Linked DNA regions of Homo sapiens: region 2 is linked to region 1. The links are contacts of gene promoters, found by promoter capture Hi-C in human tissues and cell types (Jung and others, 2019). All regions are on one chromosome and are shown on one strand. The core of a region is centred on a gene start or on the middle of the fragment in contact, and the rest is flanking DNA. Distances in the headings are between cores, read along the strand shown. Region 1 holds the start of CPAMD8 (C3 and PZP like alpha-2-macroglobulin domain containing 8). Region 2 overlaps MYO9B (myosin IXB).

Region 1 (4,307 bases), core at 1,008-3,507:
GGTGCAGCTGGTCTGGTTGCTTGGTGAGACAGCCAGGTGGAGAGCAGCTTCTCTTGCCAGGCAGGGGGCATATTTGGCAAGAGTAGCTGAACGGTCGGTCAGGACATCGTGGTCCTGTGTGGCTCAACCATGCCAAGGCAGCACTGACATTTTAGACCTTACAAACCAGGCAGGCAGGGAAGGCACCTCCGGGCTAACCCTGAAGGTGGAGGAGAGCAGCCGGTCTTGTGATGCCACGGGGAAGTGCATCCCAGGCAGAGGGGACAGCTGGCACCTTGGCCCAAGATGGTGGTGGTGGGTGGGGGTCTGATGTATCTCAGGAGCAAATGTGGCCAGAGCCCAATGGTCAAGGGGGAGGCGGAGGGCTCAAAGGCTGGCCTGGAGGCTGAGGAGTGGAGGTTGGCTTAGGTAGGAGTCAGAGTTGGCCTGGAGGGGCCCGGAGGGGTGGCATGGGGCAAACTTCGATGATGAGGGTGAGATCAGATGCTGCTTCTTGGTGCTAGATTTTTGCACCTCCATGTGAGTTTAGCAGCCTGTTTGGGGTTGGCCTGGTCTGAGCTTGGAGGCAGGCAGCTCCTCCTCTTCTCCAGGCAGGAGAGACGGCTACTCAATCTACTCCGGCCCCTGCGCGCGTGCACGCACACACACACACCAACACACCATCATCAGTTACGTCCCCTCTGGGTTGTGTGCTCAGTGGCAGCAGGTCCTGTATGTCCCAGGGTCCTCATTGCCCAGCCCAGGGCTTGGTGCTGCCTGGGTGATCAGTGTTGGGTCCAAAGGCTGTTGACAGGGCTGAGAAGCCCCCAGAGGACCCACATCCCTAGGGGCAGGGAGGGGGCAAGAGAAGCTTCCCTTGAGTTTCCTGGAAGGATCAGGAGTTGGACTGGCAAAGGAGGCAGGTAGAGGAAGACAGAGATTAGGCAGAAGCAGGCAGTGGAGTAAGAACAGGGTGTTGGAGGAACTAGGCTGAGGTCTCTGCCATCAAAGCCAGAGTTTAGATTTGGTCTCAATAAACGGGAAGCCCTGGCTGGATGTGGTGGCTCACACCTGTAATCCCAGCACTTTGGGAGGCTGAGGAGGGAGGATCATTTGAGCCCAGTGCTCAAGACCAGCCTGGGCAACACAGTGCGACTCCGTTTCTAAAAAAAAATATATAAAAATTAGCTGGGTGCGGGCTTGCACCTGTAGTCCCAGCTACTCTCCAGGAGTCTGAAGCTGCAGTGAGCTGTGACTGCACCACTAAATTCCTGCCTGGGCAACAGAGCAAAACTCTGGTCTCAAAACATAAAAATAAAATGTAAAATAAACAGGGAGCCCCGAGGATTCCGGGCAGGAGGGGGTGTGGTCAGCACTGGAATTTTAGAAGAAGGGCAGTTGGTAGCTGGGGGAAGGGGGTTCCACACTGGAAGGAGGGGGTCCAGGACTTGGACATGGTATAGGATGTGCCGCCTGCCAGTGGGACCTAGGACAGCAGGACCATCACTGAGGTGGCCACACGGGGAGGGGCAGGAGGGGACACCCTGCTCTTGGAGAGAAAGGGGGTGCCCATCCACCCCTGCTGTATGAAGGGGAAAGGGGGACTCTGAGGCCCAGCGAGAGAGGGGACGGGCCCAAGGGATTTGTGGACAGTGGGGGTGGGGGAGAGGGGAGCAGAGAGCACAGATAGGGACCTGGGGCAGATGTGAGTCTGGGAGGTTCGACCCCTGGCTAGACTGTTTCCCCAAAGGGTCCTCTGCTCCTTGGGCTGTACGCACTGCACTGGGCACTAGATACAGGCCAGGGCTTAGGGCACGGCGGCGCCTGTGGGATCGGGGTTGCAGGCGGCGTCCAGACCCAGGGGCCCCTGGTGAGGGGCGGGCCCGGGGAGGGGGCCATAAGGGGCTGGCTGGGGAGGGAGGGAGGGAGAGGCCAGGGAAGGGACAGGTTCCGAGTGGACGCTGGGTGGAGAGGAGAGGGAGAGTGGGGGCGGTGGGGGGTCGGGTCCGAGGCGGGGCTGGTGGGGAGGGGGGCATCCGGGGGCGAATCCGGGTAGGGGGTGAGGAGGCGGGTTCGGAAGGAATCGGGCAGGGCCCGGGTGGGTCCGGTGAGTAAGTGAGGGGACGATCCCCGGAAGGGATCGGGGCGGGTCGGGGTCCGGAGATGGGCGGAGCAGGCGTCCCGGGAGGGTGCGCCCAGGAGCGGGGCGAGCGGGGCGAGCGGGGCGGTCCCGGAGACGAGGCGGGTCCGGGGAGGGGGCTGGCCCGGGGCTGCCCCAGCTTGGCCGGGCGCGGAGCGGGGCGCATGGCGCCGGGCGCACTGCGCGGGGGCTGCGAACAAAGGGCCCCCGGCGGCGGCGCGAGGACGGCCGCGCTCGGACCCTGGCCCTGGCCCAGCCCTGGCCCGGCCCCCTCCCCAGGCGCGGCGCCCCCCAGGAGCCGAAAAATGAGCGGCGCCCTGCTCTGGCCGTTGCTCCCGCTCCTGCTCCTGCTGCTGTCGGCGCGGGACGGCGTGCGCGCCGCGCAGCCTCAGGCCCCGTGAGTATCCTCCGGCGACAGAGGAGGTCGGTCGCCTTCTGGGGTGGGGGTCGCGGGTACTGGCTCAGAGTGTTGCAGCGACCTGCCCAAGGCCACACAGCCTCCGCGCTGGGCTGGACCTGGCCTCTTGTTCCCGAATCGTCTTGAGGAGGGGGCGCCCTAAAGTTTCCGAAGTGGCTCTGTGGAGGTACAGGGACTCCCAAAAGCTAAAGGTGCTGAGGTCAGCTCCCCCCGCCCCACCTCGCCCCCTTCGTGTGACCCGGGCTGTCATCATGGGTGGCGATTTCCAGTTGTCCAAGGTATGAAGGTAAGAGGAGCGTCTTGGCTGAGAAGTGGGAGGAGAGTGCGAAGGGGCACTTTCCCGTGGGTGGGCGTGGTGAGGGAGGAGGAAGTGTTTGTTTTGCTTCTACATTTTTCTAGAGGTTTGCTTGCAGGCTTCTGGTGGGTTGACAGCGGGGAGAAGGTGAATTAACTAACTGCTGGGGAGTACTGCTAAGTTGGCTTCACAGAGAATATTTCTAAACCTGGCAAGTTCGGGTGAGCTCTGCAGGGCTGCGGGTTCAGGGGGGCTGCCCTGGTCTGCACAAGACCAGCCTTTTAGTCCAGCTGGGCGTTTAGAAGGCGGCTTGTTCAAGCAGCCCTTGTTTAGGAGTTTCCAGAAAACTGGTAAGCAGTGAGACTAGGTGGGTGTCGTTATTTGCAGTGAGTAGTTGGTCCTTGCTGGTCACAGTTTTAAAAGCAAGACAGTCTACTGCGCTCTGAGCATCCAGACTTCCCTCTCCTAGGCTTCGTGAAATCGGAACCCTACAAATTTTCATCCTAATGCTTCTTTCAAAGCTGGCATCCCTTAGAATAGTGGTTCTCAGCCCTGGGGGGGATTTTTGTCTCCCTGAGGCCGCTGGGAAATGTCTGGAGGTATTTTTGGTTGTCACAAATAGGGAGAGGCATTTGGTGTTGGCATTAAGTGGGTGCAGGCCAGGAATGCTGGTAAACAGCTTTCGATGTGCAGGTCAGCTTCCACTGCAAGGAATGACGCGGCCCCACATGACAGACCTTGGCTCCAATGAGAGACCCTGCCTTATACAGAGGTTTTTGTTTGTTGTTTGTTGTTTTTGGGGTTTGTTTTTGTTTTTGTTTTGAGATGGAGTTTTACTCTTGTTGCCCAGGCTGGAGTGCAATGGCACGATCTTGGCTTACTGCAACCTCCGCCTCCCAGGTTCAAATGACTCTCCTGCCTCAGCCTCCTGAGTAGCTGGGATTACAGGCGTGTGCCACCACACCCGGCTAATTTTTTGTATTTTTAATAGAGATGGGGTTTCTCCATGTTAGCCAGGCTGTTCTGGAACTCCTGACCTCAGGTGATCCACCCACCTCCGCCTCCCAAAGTGCTGGGATTAGAGGCGTGAGTCACCGTGCCTGGCCCGTTAGAGAGTTTTAAACAGTTCTCCAGGGCGTTTTCCTCTGACTAAAGTCACCCTGTGATCTTACCATCTGTTAAGTGACATGGAATCCCTGTGCTGAGAGACACACTGGGGAAGAGATGTCCCCAAATGACCGACCTGGGATTCCAGATTAGCTGGCCTCTAAGCCAGGGGCATGGTTCACCCAGCCCAAAGGATCTCGTCTTAGGAATAGCTCTGGATGCCCACTTCTGTCACCTGAGAGATTTTTGTGTGAGGAATCTCTGATCCCAGAAAGCAGCACAGTTTGCAGTTGTAAGAGCAATTCTGTCTACACTGACCCAGACATCCCTTTCCCCAATCTGGGACCTTCTGAGACCAGCAGGATGAG
Region 2 (4,307 bases), core at 477-2,976, 140 kb before region 1:
GTGACCTTATTTGGAAAATAGGGTCTTTGGAGATGTAATTAGTTAAGATGAGGTCATTAGCGTGGGACCTAGTTCCATATGGATGGTGTCCTTCTAAAAACAGAAGACAGGGTCAGGTGTAATGGCTCACACCTATGGTCCCAGCACTTTGGGAGGTCAAGGTGAGAGGACTGCTTGAGCCCAGGAGTTCAAGACTAGCCTGGGCAATACAGGGAGATTCCATCTCTACAAAAAAAAATTTTTAAGCAGCCTGGCCAACATGGTGAAAAAACCCCATCTCTACTAAAAATACAAAAATTAGCTGGGCATGGTGGCAAGGCACCTGTGATCCCAGCTACTCGGGAGGCTGAGACACGAGAATCGCTTGATCCTGGGAGGTGGGGGTTACAGTGAGCTGAGATGACGCCAATTAACTTGAGCCAAGATGGCGCCACTACCCTCCAGCCTGGGCAACAGAGCAAGAAGAGCCTGTCTCAAAAAAAAAAAAAAAAAAAAAAAAAAAAAGGAGGAGACAGGATTGAGATGAATGATGCAGACACAGAGGGAAGAAGTCCATGTGAAGAGGAAGAGGGAGGCAGGGACTGGAGTGATGTGGCCAAAAGCCAAGGAAAGCTTGGACCCCTAGAAGCTGGAGGAGGCAAGAAAGGGTCCTCCCTTGGAGCCTCTGGAGGCAGCACAGCTCTGCTGACAGTTTGACTTTAGACTTCCAGCTTCCAGAACCATAAGAGAATAGATTACTGTGGTTTTAAGAACTCCACCTCCCGGGTTCAAACAATTCTCCTGCCTCAGCCTCCCAAGTAGCTGGAATTATAGGCACCCGCCACCATGCCTGGCTAATTTTTGCATTTTTAGTAGAGATGGGGTTTTGCCATGTTGGCCAGGCTGGTTAAAAATTTTTTTGTAGAGATGGAATCTTTTTTTTTTTTTTTTTTTTTGAGACAGAGTCTTGGTCTGTCACCCAGGCTGGAGTGCAATGGAGTGATCTCCGCTCACTGCAACCTCCGCCTCCCAGGTTCAAGCAATTTTCCTGCCTCAGCCTCCTGAGTAGCTGGGATTACAGGCGCCTGTCACCATGCCCGGCTAATTTTTGTATTTTCAGTAGAGACGGGGCTTCACCATGTTGGCCAGGCTGGTCTCCAACTCCTGACCTCAGGTGATCCGCCTGCCTCGGCCTCCCAAAGTGCTGGGATTACAGGCGTGAGCCACTGTGCCTGGCCGAGGTGGAATCTTTCTGTGTTGCCCAGGCTGGTCTTGATCTCCTGGGCTCAAGAGCCCACCTGGCTTGTAGCGGTTCCTTAGAGGAGCCACAGGAAAGTAGTTCGGTATGTGTCACGTGATTTCAGTGACTACAACTGGGTGACCCAGAATGAGGTGCCTTATTGACCTGTCTGCCTTCACAGCGCCCTGTGGACTGTGGGGATGAGGGAGGAAGGCTCAGAAGTGAGACCAGAGCCCAGCAGCATCTGGGTCCCAATTCCACACACTGCACTGCCCTTTGTAACAACTCGCCAATCCTGTCTCTTGCTCCATTGCCCAGGCTGGAGTGCAGTGACACGATCACAGCTCCCTGCAGCCTCAACCTCCCAGGCTCAAGTGATCCTCCTGTCTCAGCCTCCTGAGTAGCTGGGGCCACAGGTATGCCCCACCACGTCTGGCCCCAGTGTCTAGTTTCTAGGCATAGGCCCATAATCCTTTGCTGAAAACTCCTGGCGGATGTGCCTCAAGTGCACGAATTAATCACACGTGTTGATGTTTTCACAATGAGGTGTTTGTGCATTTTGCACACACGAGCTTGGGTTTTGTGGTCAAGTGAAATGAACAGACACAAGTTCTCAGCACAAGGTCTGGCGTGGTGGCACACGCCTGTAATCCCAGTACTCTCGGAGGCCAAGGCGGGAGGATCCCTTGAGCTAAGGAGTTCAAGACCAGCCTGGAAAACATGACGAAACCCTGTTGCTACAAAGAAATACAAAAATTAGCCGGGTATGGTGGTGTGACCCTGTAGTCCCAGCTACTCCAGAGGCTCACGTCAGGGGATCACTTGAGCCCAGGAGGTCAAGGCTGCAGTGAGCTTTGATTGCACCACTACACTCCAGCCTGGGTGACAGAGTGAGACCCTGTCTCAAAAATAAAAAGGCGCTCTTGGGAAAGTCTGGATTTGGGGTAAGGCTCTGGGGGCTGCAGAACCTGACCCAGTGCCCATGCGTAGATGTGCCGGGATGGACGGGGTGTGGACACTCACTTGCTCTCCTCGTCCAGCAGGTAGAAGAGGCCCGTGGGTTTCTTGCTGATGAGATGGATGCAGCCGACATTGTCTGTGTAGCCGATGTTGTGCCACGTGATCCCCTCGCCCTGATATTCCTCCTGCAGGGGTGGCGCGGGGTCGGTAAGTTTCTTATCTCCCAGATATGTAATATCTACATAACATATATTGCATACAGGTCGAGTATCCCTAATCCGAAAATCTGAAATGCTTCAAAATAGGAAACTTTTTAAACTGATGCGTGGCTTAAAATTAACTCTAATAGGGCTGGGCACAGTGGCTCACGCCTGTAATCCCAGCACTTTGGGAGGCCAAGGCAGGTGGATCACCTGAGGTCAGGAGTTTGAGACCAGCCTGACCAACATAGCAAAATCCCATCTCTACTAAAGATACAAAATTAGCCAGGCGTGGTTGCACAAGCCTGTAATCCCAGCTACTCAGGAGGCTGAGGCAGGAAAATCGCTTGAACACGGGAAGTGGAGGTTGCAGTGAGCCAAGATTGCGCCATTAGTCCTACTCCAGCCTGGGCAACAAGAGCGAAACTCCGTCACAAAAAAAAAAAAAAAAAAATAGCTCTAATAATACACTTAATTTAACATGATATATCCAAAATGTGATCATGTTAACATGTAACTGACATAAAAAGTAACTGAGAGGCCAAGGTGGTAGGATCGCTTGAGGCCAGGAGTTCAAGACCAGCCTGGACAACATAGCAAGATCCTGTCTGTGCAAAAAATAAAAAGTAAAAAATACTTTACTGAGGCTGGAGGATGGCTTGAGTCCAGGAGTTTGAGACCAGCCCGGGCAATATAGCAAGACTCCATCTCAAAAAAAAAAAAAAAAATCCAAAACTTTTGGACTGCCAATGTTATGTGATGCTCAAAGACAACGCTCATTGAAGCATTTCAGATTTTGGATTTTCAGATTTGGGATGTTCAACCAGTAAGTATAATATAAATATTGAAAAATCTGAAAAAAATCCCAAACCTGAGACACTTCTGCTCCCAAGCAGTTTGGATAAGGGATCCCCACACTGTAGGAACATATTTATGTATCAATAGGCATGTTTACATATAAATGTATCTGCATGTGTGTGTTCTTTGCAGCACTATTCACAATAACAAATAAGTAATCTAAATGCCCACTAATGGATAAAGCAAATGTGGTGCATATACATCAAGGAATACTACCCAGCCATAAAAAAGGAATGAGGTCATGTCCTTTGCAGGAACATGGATGGAGCTGGAGGCCATTACCCTTAGCATACTAATGCAGGAACAGAAAACCAAATATTGCATGTTCTTATTTATAAGAGGGAGCCAAATGATGAGAACACATGGACACATAGAGGGGAACAACACACACTGGGGCCTATTGGAGGGTGGAGGGTGGGAGGAGTGAGCGGATCAGGAAAAATAACTAGTGGGTACTAGGTTTAATACCTGGGTGATGAAATAATCTGTACAACAAACCCCCATGACACAAGTTTACCTATGTAACAAATCTGCACATGTACCCCTGAACTTCAAAGTGAAAAAAAAAAACATAAATATATCAGTAACAAAATGCATATGAGTAAATCAATATGAATACATTAATAGTTACATAAACTTACTAGATAAATGAATGATTGTAAACAGGAAACAAGAATGCACATTCTTAAATACTGATCACAGCATGGCACTTTAAATATCACACAAGGGCTGGGCGTGGTGGCTCACGCCTGTAATCCCAGCACTTTGAGAGGCTGAGGTGGGCAGATCACCTGAAGTTAGGAGTTCAAGACCAACCTGGCCAACATGGTGAAACCCTGTCTCTACTAAAAATACAAAAATTAGCCGGGCCTGGTGGCACACACCTGTGACCCCAGCTACTGGGGAGGCTGGGGCAGGAGAATCACTAGAACCTGGGAGGTGGAGGTTGCAGTGAACCGAGATTGCACCATTGCACTCCGGCCTGAATGACAGGGCAAGACTCTGCCTCAAGAAAAAAAAAAAATCACACTTAAAATCATTTAGAGGTTGGCAAACTTTCTCTGTAATGG

The links. Contacts are between HindIII fragments. The study calls those that stand out against the background at their distance.
Region 2: a contact is called between a fragment that was not itself captured here and the fragment with the promoter of CPAMD8 in region 1, in 8 of the 25 tissues and cell types used here (H1 embryonic stem cells, bladder, dorsolateral prefrontal cortex and 5 more).

The regions. Positions count from the first base shown.
Region 1 is chr19:17,024,760-17,029,066 of GRCh38, reverse strand. It overlaps CPAMD8 (C3 and PZP like alpha-2-macroglobulin domain containing 8), which reads left to right and starts at 2,257. Exons shown (of 42, transcript NM_015692.5): 1 at 2,257-2,516. The coding sequence starts at 2,425. RefSeq lists an enhancer at 1,177-2,085. The HindIII fragment of the contact is 4,679 bases long and covers 1-4,276 here.
Region 2 is chr19:17,166,000-17,170,306 of GRCh38, reverse strand. MYO9B (myosin IXB) reads right to left here. Exons shown (of 40, transcript NM_004145.4): 11 at 2,243-2,364. Among named protein-coding and RNA genes, the nearest start is that of USE1, 47 kb to the left of the region's middle. The HindIII fragment of the contact is 6,459 bases long and covers 1-4,307 here.